2 separate regions of the Homo sapiens genome follow, and region 1 is linked to region 2. Evidence: promoter capture Hi-C in 16 types of primary human blood cells and fetal thymus (Javierre and others, 2016). All regions are on one chromosome and are shown on one strand. The core of a region is centred on a gene start or on the middle of the fragment in contact, and the rest is flanking DNA. Distances in the headings are between cores, read along the strand shown.

The links. Contacts are between HindIII fragments. The CHiCAGO score rates a contact against its expected background, and 5 or more counts as called.
Region 1: the fragment with the promoter of LPCAT3 here is called in contact with the fragment with the promoter of MRPL51 in region 2 in 1 of 17 cell types (non-activated CD4 T cells); the score reaches 6.9 in non-activated CD4 T cells.

What each region holds. Positions count from the first base shown.
Region 1 is chr12:7,013,685-7,020,874 of GRCh38, forward strand. LPCAT3 (lysophosphatidylcholine acyltransferase 3) reads right to left here and starts at 4,792. Exons shown (of 13, transcript NM_005768.6): 1 at 4,590-4,792. The coding sequence starts at 4,740. RefSeq lists a silencer at 5,143-5,402. The HindIII fragment of the contact is 11,114 bases long and covers 1,851-7,190 here.
Region 2 is chr12:6,487,517-6,494,847 of GRCh38, forward strand. MRPL51 (mitochondrial ribosomal protein L51) reads right to left here and starts at 5,746. Exons shown (of 3, transcript NM_016497.4): 1 at 5,542-5,746; 2 at 5,346-5,456; 3 at 4,370-4,951. The coding sequence starts at 5,620. The coding sequence ends at 4,755. NCAPD2 (non-SMC condensin I complex subunit D2) reads left to right here and starts at 6,586. Exons shown (of 32, transcript NM_014865.4): 1 at 6,586-6,638. RefSeq lists enhancers at 5,964-6,013, 6,181-6,778 and a silencer at 6,214-6,543. The HindIII fragment of the contact is 4,003 bases long and covers 5,551-7,331 here.

The DNA.
Region 1 (7,190 bases), core at 3,542-6,041, 530 kb after region 2:
ATCTCACAGGAGATGCCCACTTTCTCCTCTCAGCACAGCCACCCTGCCTCCAAGTCATTATAACTTCCTCTCTAGATCACTTCTTTCTCCTTAGTTTCCCTACTACTTGTCTATGCTGACTTCAAATCACCCCAGGCTGTATTATCTTTTTAAATACAGCTCCAGCCATATTATTCCCCACTCAAAAATCTCCAATGTTCCCTATCACCTACGTGAGTACTAACTCTTTACCTTGGCTTTAAAGGCTCTTTAACCTACAGTTCCAGCCTGATTTTCCATCACTTCTTTAAAGTCCTGTTTTAGTCACACTAGACTACTGACTGTTCCTTGGCTGTGTTGCCACATTCACACCTCAGTGCCTCTGCTCATGCTATTCCTTAAGTCTTACCATCTCAGCATGCTGAAACCTTACTCATCTTTAAATGAAATGTCCCATCTTTAAATCTCACAAAGCTCTGTACCTCTCTTATGGTGCTTAAAATTTATTGGGGTTATTAGTATACTTATCTCAGGCCCATTTCCTATACCCTAACAGACCATAATACCTTTGAGTGCAGGGCTCCTGACTCATACTACACCCACTGCTCCTGCCCTTGCAGGGTTAAGAATACTGCTTTACCTGTAGTAGGTGCATGTTACTGAATTTATATGAGCAATTCATGGTATTAGTTACATTAAGGAGTGATGAGATCCAAGCTGTTGAAGGGGAGATGTTTTCTGGTAGTATTTGCCAGCACCAGGGCTCATGGCAAAATTCCTCTTCAGCATCCTTCCATCAAACTCCTTGCAAGCATACACCACACAAACATAAACACACTCCTTTTACAGTCTTCTGACTGCTCAAAATACTCCAGTGCAGCAGTCCACATAAGCTTACTTTTTCTTTGAAGTATTGAATATTAAAAATTGCAGCCTCGGCTGGGCGCGGTGGCTCATGCCTGTAATTTCACGCCTGTAATTCCAGCACTTTGGGAGGCCGAGGCAGGTGGATCACGACGTCAGTAGATTGAGACCATCCTAGCCAACATGGTGAAACCCCGTCTCTACTAAAAACACAAAAATTAGCCGGGTATGATGGCGTGCACCATAGTCCTAGCTACTCAGGAGGCTGAGGAGGAGAACTGCTTGAACCTGGGAGGCGGAGGTTGCAATGAGCCGACATCGAGCCACTGCACTCCAGTGTGGGTGACAGAGCGAGACTCCGTCTCAAAAAAAAAAAAAAAAAAAAAATTGCAGCCTCTAACTCAAGATTTTTCAAACTGTTGTAACTCATTAACAAGTCATGAAATCAACTTAGTGAGTTATTATTAAGGGCAAGTATTCTTTCCTGAAACTTGTTTCAAATACGTGTATACACATACAAGTCTGTGTGTTCTGGGTCACAATGTAAAACATATTTCTTACGATGGATCTTAGTCAAAAAGGTTTAAAAGCCAGTGCTTTAATGCTCTGCATTCCACCCCAAGATCAGCACACAGAACTGAAGTAAAAAAAGTAAGATGTTAAGAAAATAGTAATTAGACTATCTGATTAAAACGTACACTTGAAAATGTGAATGATATACCTAACTCTTCCCTTGGGGTATTTGCATTTAGGGAGGTGTTTTTAACCTGAATTAATCTAATCAGTGGAAAGTGAACCAGAAATCATTTTGGACTACAGGCTTTCTTGGTACCTCCAGCAAGGATTTCCTCCAGTATCCCAGTTCCCTGAGAGAGCTGGGTTCAAGAACCAGGAACTCCACTGCTGAAAGGCTACTGGTTTCTAGGTTACAATACACAGAAATGGTAATAACCTTTGTAAGGGAAACATATTTACAACCAAAATGCACTCCTACCACGCACACATCAAGCTTAATCAATTTATATTTATATGTATGTATTTAAACTGTGCCTACTAGGAATACAATCCTACCCGTCCACATGATGAGCTATACCTGATAGGAGGCAAGTTGAAGCCCCAAGTTGATCTAAAAATGAGAAATACTATGAATTACTGAAGGCAACAGGGTATGTGAGATAGGAAGGCAGGGTGTGGGAAATGGTAGAATGAGCAAGGGGGCTCGGGAGTGTGGTAGATGCATTACACCAAGTGTTTATTACTTTGATGATTGGTGGTAATGAGAGAAGATGAGAGAAGAGGAGTGGGATATGGAGAAAACAATTTCCTAGTCATCTGTATGCCCCGTGACAGTACACAGCAATAGCCCAGCAGGAGTGCACAGGCAATATGTGATTATGTCAACAAACAAAAGTTGAATTCTTTATGTCAACAAACAAAAGTTGAATTCCAAGTCCTAATTCCAGCCCTAACTCCATTTAACAGATTGCCCCTTATAACTGGTTGCTACTTGTGTTACATTCTGAATTTATTGTTGAGAAACCAACAGTTTCCTAACTAATGAATGTAATACAATTTTTTTTTTTTTTTGAGACAGGGTCTTGCTCTATCCTTCAGGCTGGAGTGCAGTGGTGCCACGGCTCACTGTAGCCTCAAACTTCCAGGCCCAAGTGATCCTCCCACCTCAATCTCGGGAGTAGCTGGGACCACAGGCATGGCATGAGCCACCACGCCCAGCTCATTTTTTTATTAATTTTTTTTTTTTTTTTGGAGACAGAGTCTTGCTCTGTCACCCAGGCTGGAGTGCAGTAGAGCTAACTTGGCTCACTACAACCTTCACCTCCAGGGTTCAAGTGATTCTCCTGCCTCAGCCTCCCAAGTAGCTGGGATTACAGGTGCCCACCACCATGCCCAGCTAATTTTTATACTTTTAGGAGAGATGGGGTTTCACCATGTTGGCCAGGCTGGTCTCAAACTCCTGACCTCAAGCGATCTGCCCACCTTGGCCTCCCAAAATGCCAGGATTACAGGCATGTGCCCCTGCGCCTGGCCTAATTTTTTGTAGAGACAAATAAAATGTTGCCCAGGCTGGCCTCAAGCGTTCCTCCCACCTTGGCCTCCCAAAGTGTTACGATTATAAGCATAAGCCGCTGCGTCCTGTCAAATGTAAACACTAATTGCTAATTACAATGTCAAAAATAACTGGGTCAGAAACAAGGATGAAAGAGTAGGAAGTTCAAAGCTGGTGTAGTGCAAATAAGCCTAGACTAGGGTGCTGATAAATTTGGATGATGTCTGGGTGACACTGAGCAAACTGCACAACCCCAGTTCCATTCCATCTTTAAAATCTTACGATTCCACAGAGGAAGAAAAAGGTGATCTTTATTTGGAAGAAAGGAAGATCTTGGTTTGATATGTAATAGGAAAGTAACAATGCTATTAGGCAAGGTTGTTTAAATATGAATTAATGCCTATCCCATTATCTAGATTGGGTTAACACCCTCTGGTGATATTATATATCAGTGTTTCTACTGAATACTGGATAAACGCCAAACTTCTCTCTGGCATTTAAGGCTTTCCACACCTGCCCAACTTTATCTCAAACTTCTCATGGTTCAGACCTCTAACCCTCTGCTCTAGCCCCAGTCCTGTTTCCTTATCACCACTTACAGCTTTTGCTTAATCCTTCCCACTCACCCGCTCCTAAAGTTCTATAACCTTCATAAAACGTTCCAACTGCTTAAATTTTATGTATATATATGTACAGGTACTTCCCAATCTTGGCCCTTCTACAGGACTTTATGGCAATCCTATGTGGTAGGCACTGTTGTCCTCATTTCATAGATAAGGAAATTAGGCCCAGAGGGTTTTGCGGCCTGCGTAGGGTCCTTCAGTTTGTGAGCAGCAACAAGGCTGGATCTGATTTGTTTGCCTTCAAAACCCATACTTTTTTCCATTGTACTATGCTACCTCCATGTATTAAACCATGGAGTGAGGATGCGGTAAAAAAGCCTATAAACCAGTTGTAATACAGCTTGTTGTGGCATAAATTCAGATACACCACATCCTTTGAACCACACGTGTAATAAACGCTTGGAATAGTATGGATCGATTTTAAGGAGGTTGTTAGTCCTGTTTCCCAAGTCCAGCATTAAAATGATATTCCAGGGTAAATGACAGGTAGGTGGCTTGGAAAATAAAAAAAGCAACATGGTATAAAAAGAAAATAGTAGGACTGGGACAGAAAAGAGACGAAAGTATAATATAAGCTGGCAATAAGCAAAACAGGCGCTCAGAATATGAAATATGGAATATGGGGCTGAAAAGGCCGAAAGGGCTAAAGTTAGGGGCCCTATGCCTACCGATGAGATGCGCGCGTGTGCGGGGTGGTTATTAATGACAGAGCAGGACACATGGCCAGACAGTGGAACTCAACAGAGCGACAAATAAAGACAGGTCGTGGGAGCAAGGGTAGAGCCTGGCACAAGAGGGCGGGGGCCCGACTGAGAGGCCAGAGGGCATGGCAGGGGTTGAAGAGAAAGATGAAGAGGTTCAGAGGGCACAGCGCCCCAGACTCGAGACAGGACTTCTGTCTTCCCTCAGTAGCTGTTGGTGTGCTTCAGGATTCACACCCGCACCCGGCACAGCCCTCCCGGGTGGCTCCGGGAAGAGAGGGAGGTCCTGTCCCCATTCCTCCCCTACTCCCCGGGGACTCCGCGAGGGGCGGAGGGAGGCAGGAGGGTCCTTACCCAGGAAGATGGAGATGATCAGCCGCAGCGCCTGTTCTGACGCGCCCAGGGACGTCGCCAACTTGTTAAGGCTCAGCTCCTGGAAACCCGACTGCAGAACCCCCGCCAGCGCCACCACAGTCCCCTCGTCCCCCTCCGCTGAGGACGCCATCTTAACTCCGGGAGCCCCACAGGGACCCCCCAGCTCCGCGCGCCCCGAATGCGGGCAAAACGCTATCGCTTCACCCCCAATTCCGGCTCGGGGCCCGCCCACGGCGTGCGCATTGGCTGGAGGCCCGCCCCGCGGCGCCAGCTCACCCCGTTATTGGCCGACCTGCGCAGAGGGCGGGGCCTAGCGCGGCAAGGTAGGAAGAGGGCGGGTCTGAAGGTTTGTAAGGCAAAGGTGACTCCTGCCGAGAATGCACACGGGGAGGCTCAGGGCTGGGCGGGGCTTGGCGTCGGGACCCAGAGCTGCCATTGGAAAGGTCTGAGCCCGTGGCCCGGCGACAGTTCAACTCCGTTCGAAATGCTCCCAGGAGGAGCCCTCCGGGGCGACCGTCCGGCCGGCCGGTTCGCTGCCTTCCCATTGGCTGAGGCGGGAGCAGGCGAGAGTCTGGACGCGGGGGGGCCGCCCGCGCGCGAGGTTACTCCCGGTCGCCGGCGCTGGGGTTACTGGGGCATGTAACGGGGAGGCGGGAACGCCCGCGCCGCCTTTCGCGCGCCCCCTAACGGCGCCTCCCGGCCCGTTCTTAAATTCTTAGGTTGTTAGACTCGTCGCCTTCACTCCCGGAGGTTCAGCGGAAAGCCCAGTGCCCCAGGAACAGACATTGTCTGCTCCTTTTATTTCATGGATCCCTTTTCCATGCAGTTTCCTGTAGTAAAACATGACCTTCCCCCTAGAGGCGATGAAATTAAGATATGCCTATTTAACACTTATTATTTTAATTAAAAATTCAAATAATTTTGCACTGAGTAATACATGTTTATGATAAAAGTTATAACAGTATAGAAATGTAAAACAGAAGAGTCCTGTTTCCCCTCCCTGCTTTTCATTCTCACTTCCTACAGGTAATCCTGTTAAGATTACGCCAAAAAAAAAAAAAAAAAAATCTGTCGAGCACTTACCATATGCCAGGGACTGTGCTGGGCTTGGGAATAGAATCAGGAGCCCAGAGCCACGGAGTGGGAGGATGCACAAATAATAGCATCAATTAACGTGTTATTGCAAGAGAAGGTAAGTGCTCTGAAGGAAAGGGTCAAGGTTCTGTGAGAGTATGTAACAAAGGAATGCTAAGAGTTTCTTGCAATAACTCTTAGTTACAATAATTTGTGGCGCATTCTTGTAAAATTACAGCTTATACTTCTGTAGCACTTGCACTTTATAAAGCACTTTCATCCGTATTATTTCACTTGCTTTGGCTGCGCAATAGAATATTTATTATGATGATGTCCTCTTACAGACACAGAGGCTTGGAGAAATTAAGAAACTGGGTAAGTTCCTTTACAAGTAAGCGGCAGACAGAATTTAAACCTAGGTCTGTCAAATTCCCTACCCCTACTCCCATTTTGGGCAAGATTTTAAAAAACAAAATATTTCATTCACACGGAAAAGTAGAGGATAATATAACTTCTCCAGGTTAAGAAACAAACATCACCTATACATTTGAAAAGCCGGTATATCCCTTCCTGAGGGCATTTCCCTCCTTCCTTTCTCAGAGGTCACCACTTTGCTGACTTTGGTATTTATCAATCCCATGCCTATTTTAATACTTTACATACAGCATATATCCAGAAAGGAAAATTAGTATAGTTTTGCATGCCTTATATTGGCCGGGCACAGTGGTTCATGCCTGTAATCCTAGTACTTAGGGAGGTTGAGGTGGGAAGATTGCTTGAGCCCAGGAGTTGGAGACCAGCCTGGGCAACATAGACCCTGTCTCTACAAAAAAAATAAAATAAAATTTAGATGAGCATGGTGGAACATGCCTGTAGTCCCAGCTACTCAGGAAGCTAAGGTGGGAGGATCACTTGAGCCTGGGAGGTTGAGGCTGTAGTGAGTCGTGATCATGACACTGCGCTCCAACCTGAAAGACAGAGCGAGACTCTGTCTTGCAAAAAAAAACAAAAATTATATATATAGGCCTGTAATCCCAGCAATTTGGGAGGCTGAGACGGGTGGATCACCTGAGGTCATGAGTTAGAGACCAGCCTGGCCAACATGGTGGAACCCTGTCTCTACTAAAAATACAAAAAAATTAGCCAGGCGTGATGGCCGGCTCCTGTAATCCCAGCTACTTGGGAGGCTGAGGCACGAGAATCACTTGAACCCGGGAGATGGAGTTTCATGTGCGTCCGTGTGAAGAGACCACCAGACAGGCTCTGTGTGAGCAACAAGGCTGTTTATTTCCCTGGGTGCAGGCGGGCTGAGTCCGAAAAGAGAGTCAGCAAAGGGTGGTGGATTATCATTAGTTCTTATAGGTTTTGGGATAGGCGGTGAAGTTAAGAGCAATGTTTTGTGGGCAGGGGTGGATCTCACAAAGTACATTCTCAAGGGTGGGGAGAATTACAAAGAACCTTCTTAAGGGTGGGGGGATTACAAAGTACCTTCTTAAGGGTGGGGGA
Region 2 (7,331 bases), core at 4,496-6,995:
CTAAGGAGATTTATGTACAAGTGTTTGTGTGGACATATGTTTTCAGTTTTCTTGGGTATAAACCTAGGAGTGGAATTACTGGGTCATGCAGTAACTCTACACTTAACTTTTTGTGGAACTGCCACTTTTCCAAAGTGGCTGCACCATTTTACTAAAGGCTAAATTTTTTTTTTTGAGATGGAGTCTCACTCTGTCGCCCAGGCTGGAGTGCGGTGGTGCGATCTCAGCTCACTGCAAACTCCGCCTCCTGGGTTCACGCCATTCTCGCGCCTCAGCCTCCCAAGTAGCTGGGACTACAGGTGCCCGCCACCATGCCAGGCTAATTTTTTGTATTTTTAGTACAGATGGGGTTTCACCGTGTTAGCCAGGATGGTCTCGATCTCCTGACCTCGTGATCTGCCTGTCTCAGCCTCCCAAAGTGCTGGGATTACAGGCGTGAGCCACCGCGCCCGGCCCCCTAAAGGCTAAATTTTAATAATCATTACAATCTTCAGGATCTGACTCTTGCTTCCCATCTCTTTCCCTGTCTTTTACCACAAGCAGTAGCTCCACCAGTAAATACCACTCATAGCTTTCTCATGCACACCATGCTGTTTCTTGACTCTAGGCCTTTATTTCTGCTTCAACTGCCTGGAAAAACTGCTAGCCTCCACTCCCTTAAGACAACTCAGTGGTCACCTCTTCTCTAAAGCCCTTCTCGTCCCCATTCCTGCTTCCTCAGGAAAAGATAGGTGTCTCTTCCTCTCCACACCTATACACATAGCTATTAACAAACTTTAAATGTCATGACATACTGGATTTCATAACTATGCTTCTTCATCTGCCTCTTGCACTGGGTGGAATTCTTTTTTCCTTTTTTTTTTTTTTAAAGGCAGGATCTTGCTATGTTGCCCAGGCTAGAATGTAGTGGCCTGATCTCAGCTCACTGCCACCTCCACCTGCTGGGCTCAAGCCATCCTCCCCCCTCAGCCTCCTGAGTAGCTGGAATTACAGGCATGTGCCATCATGCCCAGCTAATTTGTTTTTTGTATTTTTTTAGTAGAGATGGGGTTTCACCACTTTGGCCAAGCTGGTCTTGAACTCCTGACCTCAAGTGATCTGCTCACCTCGGCCTCCCAAAGTGCTGGGATTACAAGCATGAGCCACTGCTCCTGGCCTCAAGAGCTCATTCTAATGCCATCTTTTCAACAAATACCTTTTCTGATCATCCCCCTCAGCAAAAAAAAAAAAGAAAAAAAAAACCTGTCATGGGACTCGCTTTCATTATCATATTTAAATTTACATTTTGTTTACATACACATCTCTTCTTTTTTTCTTTTTTCCAGTCTTACCCCTGTATAAACTGGATGAAGCTGCTGCCAATTTAACCAAGTGGGAATCCCAGTGCTAATTGTCTGCTGGATGGGATATCTTTATTGGAGCAGATTAACATAGCCTCACATTTGTGGTTTGTGACCACTGATTTAGCAAATACATTGTTTTTCTTTTTTCTTTTTCTTTTTCTTTTGAGACAGGGTCTTGCTTTGTTGCCTAGGCTGAAGTGCAGTGTCACAAGCTCAGCTCACTGCAGCCTCGACCCCCAAGGCTCAAGCAATCCTTCCACCCAGCCTCCACAGCAGCTGGGACTACAGGCACATGCCACCAACGCCTGGCTAATTTTTTTTTTTTTTTTTTGTGGAGACAGCATTTCACCATGTTGCCCAGGCTGATCTCGAATTCCTGGGCTCAGCTGATCCTCTCGCCTCAACCTCCCAAAGTGTTGGGATTACAGGTGTGAGCCACTGCACCTGGCGAACATCCTTTTCTTTTTTGTTTTTTTCCTTTGAGACAGAGTTTCGCTCTTGGTGCCCAGGCTGGAGTACAATGGCACGATCTTGGCTCACTGCAACCTCCACCTCCCGAGTTCAAGCGATTCTCCTGCCTCAGCCTCCTGAGTAGGTGGGATTACAGGCATGTGCCACCAGGCCCAGCTAATTTTGTATTTTTAGTAGTCAGGGTTTCTCCATGTTGGTCAGGCTGGTCTCGAACTCCTGACCTCAGGTGATCCGCCCACCTTGGCCCCCCAAAGTGCTGGGATTACAGGCCTGAGCCAGCATGCCCAACCAACATTCTTTTCTAAAGCATGTTGGTCAGAAGCAGTCCACCACGGAGGGGATGAACAACAGTATACAGTCATGGTCTTTCATCAGGGCTATGTTAATTCTGTTCTCTGTCATGATGTAATCTAAAAAATGTGGACCATTTGCACATTCTGCAGAGTATCACATTGGTCCACCATCTTGTAACTTTACATCCTTCAGACGTCTTTTTTTTTTTTTTTTTCTTTTTTTAAAGACAGAGTCTCCCTCTGTTGCCCAGGCTGAAGTGCATGGTGCAATCTCAGCTCACTGCAACCTCTCTGTCTCCCGGATTCAAGCGATTCTCCTGCCTCAGCCTCCCGAGTAGCTGGGATTACAGGCACACACCACTATACCTGGCTAATTTTTTTGTATTTTTAGTACAGACGAGGTTTCACCATGTTGGCCAGGATGGTCTTGATCTCCTGACCTCGTGATCCGCCCACCTAGGCCTTCCAAAGTGCTGGGATTACAGGTGTGAGCCACCGGACATCTTTTAAGTAGAATGAAGACTACTTAGAGGTAGGAACCAACCCTACCTTGGTGATTTTTGTTCCTCCAAATATCTTTGCACATAATAATTCAATATTTATTCAAAGAAAACGTTATATACTGTTTCATACCACAAACAAGATTGTTCTGTCCTTGAAAACAAAACCTTTTGTATCTTTGAATCAGGAAATATTCTATAAATGCCTATTGACCTATTAATTTCCTCTTCCCTAACAATCAGATACTCTACCAGGATATGTAGATATCTTCTTCAGGGCACCTTGCACTTAGCAGAGTCCCAAATATTTTATTTTCTCCACTCTAGCACCACCAAATCATGTAAAGTATACAGCCACTCACATTTCACATCAACTTCTCCATTCTTATGCATAGCTCCTTCCAGCCACCCCTCTGAAAACTGACTCTCCTAAACATTTCCGTAAGACCCAGGATCATGTTTTCATATATACCCATCAATCCATTTATCCAAAACCCACTTGTAATTTAACAAGTGCTTTTTATTTTTATTGAAGATGGGGTCTTGCTATGTTCCTAAGGCTGGCCTCCAACTCCTGGTTTCAAAGGATCCTCCCACCTCAGCCTGCAGAGTAGCTGGGATTATAAGTGTGCTCCAACCACCATGCCCCGCAACAAGTATTTATTAATCTAACTTCACTTTTATGGAGTTTTTGTTTTTTAAAATATAGAGATGGGGTCTTGCTATGTTGCCCAGGCTGGTCTTGAACTCCTGGCTTCAAGCAATCCTCATGCCTTGGCCTCCCAAAGTGTTGGGCTTACAGGTGTGAGCCACTGCACCCAGCCCTAACTTCACTTTTTTTTTTTTTTTTTTTTTGAGACAGTCTCACCCCAGTTGCTCAGGCTGGAATGCAGTGGCATGATCTCAGCTCACTGCAGCCTCAAACTCCTGGGCTCAGGTGATCTTCCCACCTCAGCCTCTTGTGTAGCTGGGACTGCAGGCACGCAGAACCATGAGTAGCTGGAACTACAGGCATGCAGAACCATGCCCAGCTAAGTTGTTTTTTTTTTTTTTTTGAGACAGAGTCTTGCTCTGTTGCTCAGGCTGGAGTGCAGTGGCACGATCTCGGCTCACTGCAAGCTCCACCTCCCAGGTTCAAGTGATTCTCCTGCCTCAGACACCTGAGTAGCTGGGACTACAGGTGTCCGCCACCACTCCTGGCTAATTTTTTTGTTTGTTTGTTTTTGTATTTTCAGTAGAGACAGGGCTGTGTTAGCCAGGATAGTCTCGATCTCCTGAGCTCGTGGTCCGCCCCCCTCCGCCTCCCAAGGTGCTGGGATTACAGGCAGGAGCCACCGCACCCAGCCACTTTATTTTTAGTAGAGACGGAGTTTCACCATGTCGCCCAGACCAGTCTCAAATTCCTGTCTCCAAGCAATCCTCCCACCTCAGCCTCCCAAAATGCTGGGATTACATGTGGGCACCATTCTGCCCAGCTGTAATTCTTAAAAATTATTATTAAAAAAGAACAAAACACATAGATGCCCTAGACTCAACTCAGCTCTACTGATCAATCTTTAGGGGTTAGGACTAGGCTTTTGAAATGTTAAAACACCCAGAAAACTGATGACCAGTCAGGCTTAGTATCCGCCATCTCTACCATTCATATGGTACTTAATGTTTCATATTTAAATGGAAAGGACACCTCACACTTTTTTGTTTTTCCTATAGTTCCTACTCAGAGAATATGCCTAATAAATATTTTATGAGAGTAGTACAGAAGTATGACTCCATTTTTCTCTTATATTTCATTTCAGTGTGGAAGGCTCTTTAGAAACACTATTAACATAACAGCATTATGTCAAAAAGCGCCAATAACATTCTCACCAACTTTTCTTTTTAAAGGAATTAGGTATAGCTAGACTGTAAAAGGCAAGTGGTGTGAAGCCCAAACCTAAGATCCTAAGATCTAGGATGAGTCAAGACTTCATAGTCTACATGAGTAGAGGCAGCATCTAGAGGAAAACAAAAGTATGTGGCTATCAAATTCCAAAGAAGCCCCATTTTATTACAGAGAAAATACAAAGCCGTTTCCTCACAGGGAAAAGTACAGTTTCCCTTCTCCAGGGTGACAGATGAGCCTTTTCCGAAGTTCTCAGCTTTCTCTTCTATCGAAACTTCCCATGTCGGTTAAAGTGTTTGTAGAGATAGCGGATGCGTTTATTAAGGTTGTGCAGGTCATCAGCGAACATTCTACTTCCAACCATTTTCCTCTTTCGGATACAACGTTGCAATTCATTCCCTTTCCAACCTCGAAGCCATATGGGCCCCCTGATCAGTTCTTTGGGGTGCTTTTCAAAGTTTCCTGTGTAATGTGAGAGAACACATTAGATCCAAGACAAGAGAACTCATCCTACACCAGCTAAGCTTTCAACCCACGGTTGCATCTTGCTGAGCAGCACCTATAGACAAGGAACATTACAGTACAGAACAATAGCACAGACTCTGGAGCCAGACTGCTTGGGGTTAAAATTCTGATGCTGCCATTTATTAACTTTGGAAAAACTGTTTATTTTTACTTATGAAGTAAAAATTATACGAGGGGACTCAGAACAGTGCCAAACACAATGTAAACAGCTACATAAGTGTTTGCTCTTACTATTGAGCACAGTACCACTCTCTACACAGGAGGAAAAGATAGTCGTTACAGCCTAATTGCCATTCTGAAATTGTGTACCACGTCGAAGGTCAAGTCTTACCCAGGATCCCGATGTTGTCATACACTCCGAACATGGCCCTTTTCTCGTTCCAACGATCAACCACTTTGGGGGGCGGGAGAGTGAGCCTTATACCGATCAATCTAGGCACACCTGGGGATGGGGAAGGGAGGGAATTAATCTGAGCCGCCTATTATACTACGAAGCAGTTATCGGGGTGCCTACATCAGCCACTTACCAAGAGAGAAGCTTCTGCACGCCAGAGGCACCCAGTCCCACAGGCGCCTACCTGCCCCGGATAAGAGGTTCCCTGCCATTTCTCTAGTCTCCCCCCTTCAACAGCACACCAAATAAGCCCAAGAAGATGACAGGAACCGTCCCCGCCAACTTCACACGAGTACTAAGGCGAAGACAGCCATCTTGGGCCTTACCCAGGCAGCTGTGGGCGCACCGCCCACCTACGCCCCATCCGCAACAGCCACGAGCCCCGCCCCCCGGGTTCCGGCAGGAGGGGCCTCTACCACCCTTCCCGCCTCAGTGCTTCCGGTCCGCCTGCCGGAAGTTTTGGAGCGCCGGACAAGCTGAGGTCCGCGACTCGTCGCTAAGATTCCCCAAAACTGAGATTTCAAGAAAATTCACCCTTTCCGCTTTCTTTGGCGTCCTTCAACCGTGAAGGAAATGAAGGTTGAGAACCTGGAACCCGCTTCCAATGACCAAGCCCTTTCTCTGTGCCTCACAACAGTCTTCCGCTGTAGCTGTTTTTATTACCCCTATTTTACTACTGGGGAGGAGATTTGAGGTCCTGAAAGTGAAGTGACTTGCTGGACGTCACTTAGCAGAGGAGATGGCGAAACCTGGATTAGAGGCGATGCCTTCTAACTCCCAGCGTGGACTTGCCTCCTTTCCTGGGGGTGACTGAATGCCCAGCCAGGGACGCGACGTCTCTGGCCAGCAGAAATACGGCCTCCTCCCCGCCGACTGGGCAAAGGGGGACCTTGCGGCCAAGGAGGGATTCGCAGGCGGGCCGGGGGTGGGAGCGGGGGCCGGAGCCGGAGCCTTGGCCCGCCCCCGGGCGGCGCTGTGATTGGCCGGCCGCTCCGGCGGGCGTCGCGATTGGCCGTCCTGCAGCCGTTGAGATTTGAACTCGGTATTTGTGGCTTTGCCCGCGCGTTGCCAGACTCAGAGGCGGCCCTTTGCCTCTGCCTGCCGGGGATTGGCCGGATTCTCCGCCGACTTGAAAACTGCCTTGCTAATTGGTGCGTGTTGTGCACGCGTGTTTTTTCCTTTTCATTTCAGCCTGACTGCCGGAATCAGAGCCGCGGGTGAGATCCCCAGGTAAGATGTGGTGTTGCAGGTCGTAAAAGAGTAGGAAAGTCGAGTACATGGCAGTGTGACCCAGTCTTGGGCAAAATACAATAGGCCTAGTAAGTATATCCCTGGGGCGCGATGTGTGAGAAACTGTAAGTCTGACAGATCCGCAACGGAAGTTGTTAAGCAAATCGCTTAACAGATCCGCAACGGAAGATGTTAAGCAAATCGCTTAACAGATCCGCAACGGAAGATGTTAAGCAAATCGCTTAACTTTCTTACTTCAATTTCCGCTCTGTAAACTCATTTGTATTATTATGCACCTCATGGGATTGAGGTTAGGATACTTAGATCAGATATGATACATGCAAACAGCCTAACAGACTTGGCACAGGATAAATAAATCATCATTGTTAATGCTCTTACCATTCTGGTGCAGGAAGCCCACTAGCCCATGCTGGGGCACTGTTTTGGCCTCAGACGAGATCAGACCATTCTCTCTATACTTAAGGAGCTTTGCACATAAAAATGGAAATAATAGTACTTTGCACATTAATATGCCACTTTATAGTTCTTTAAACACCTTCGTACTGCTTGATTTGTTTGATCATCAGAGCAACTTTGTGAAGTAATCAGAGTTTAGTAACCCTGTTTTTACAGATAAAGCCCAGAGGTTTAAGTGTCAAGACCAAGTGCCAAAGTCACTACTAGAATTAGTTT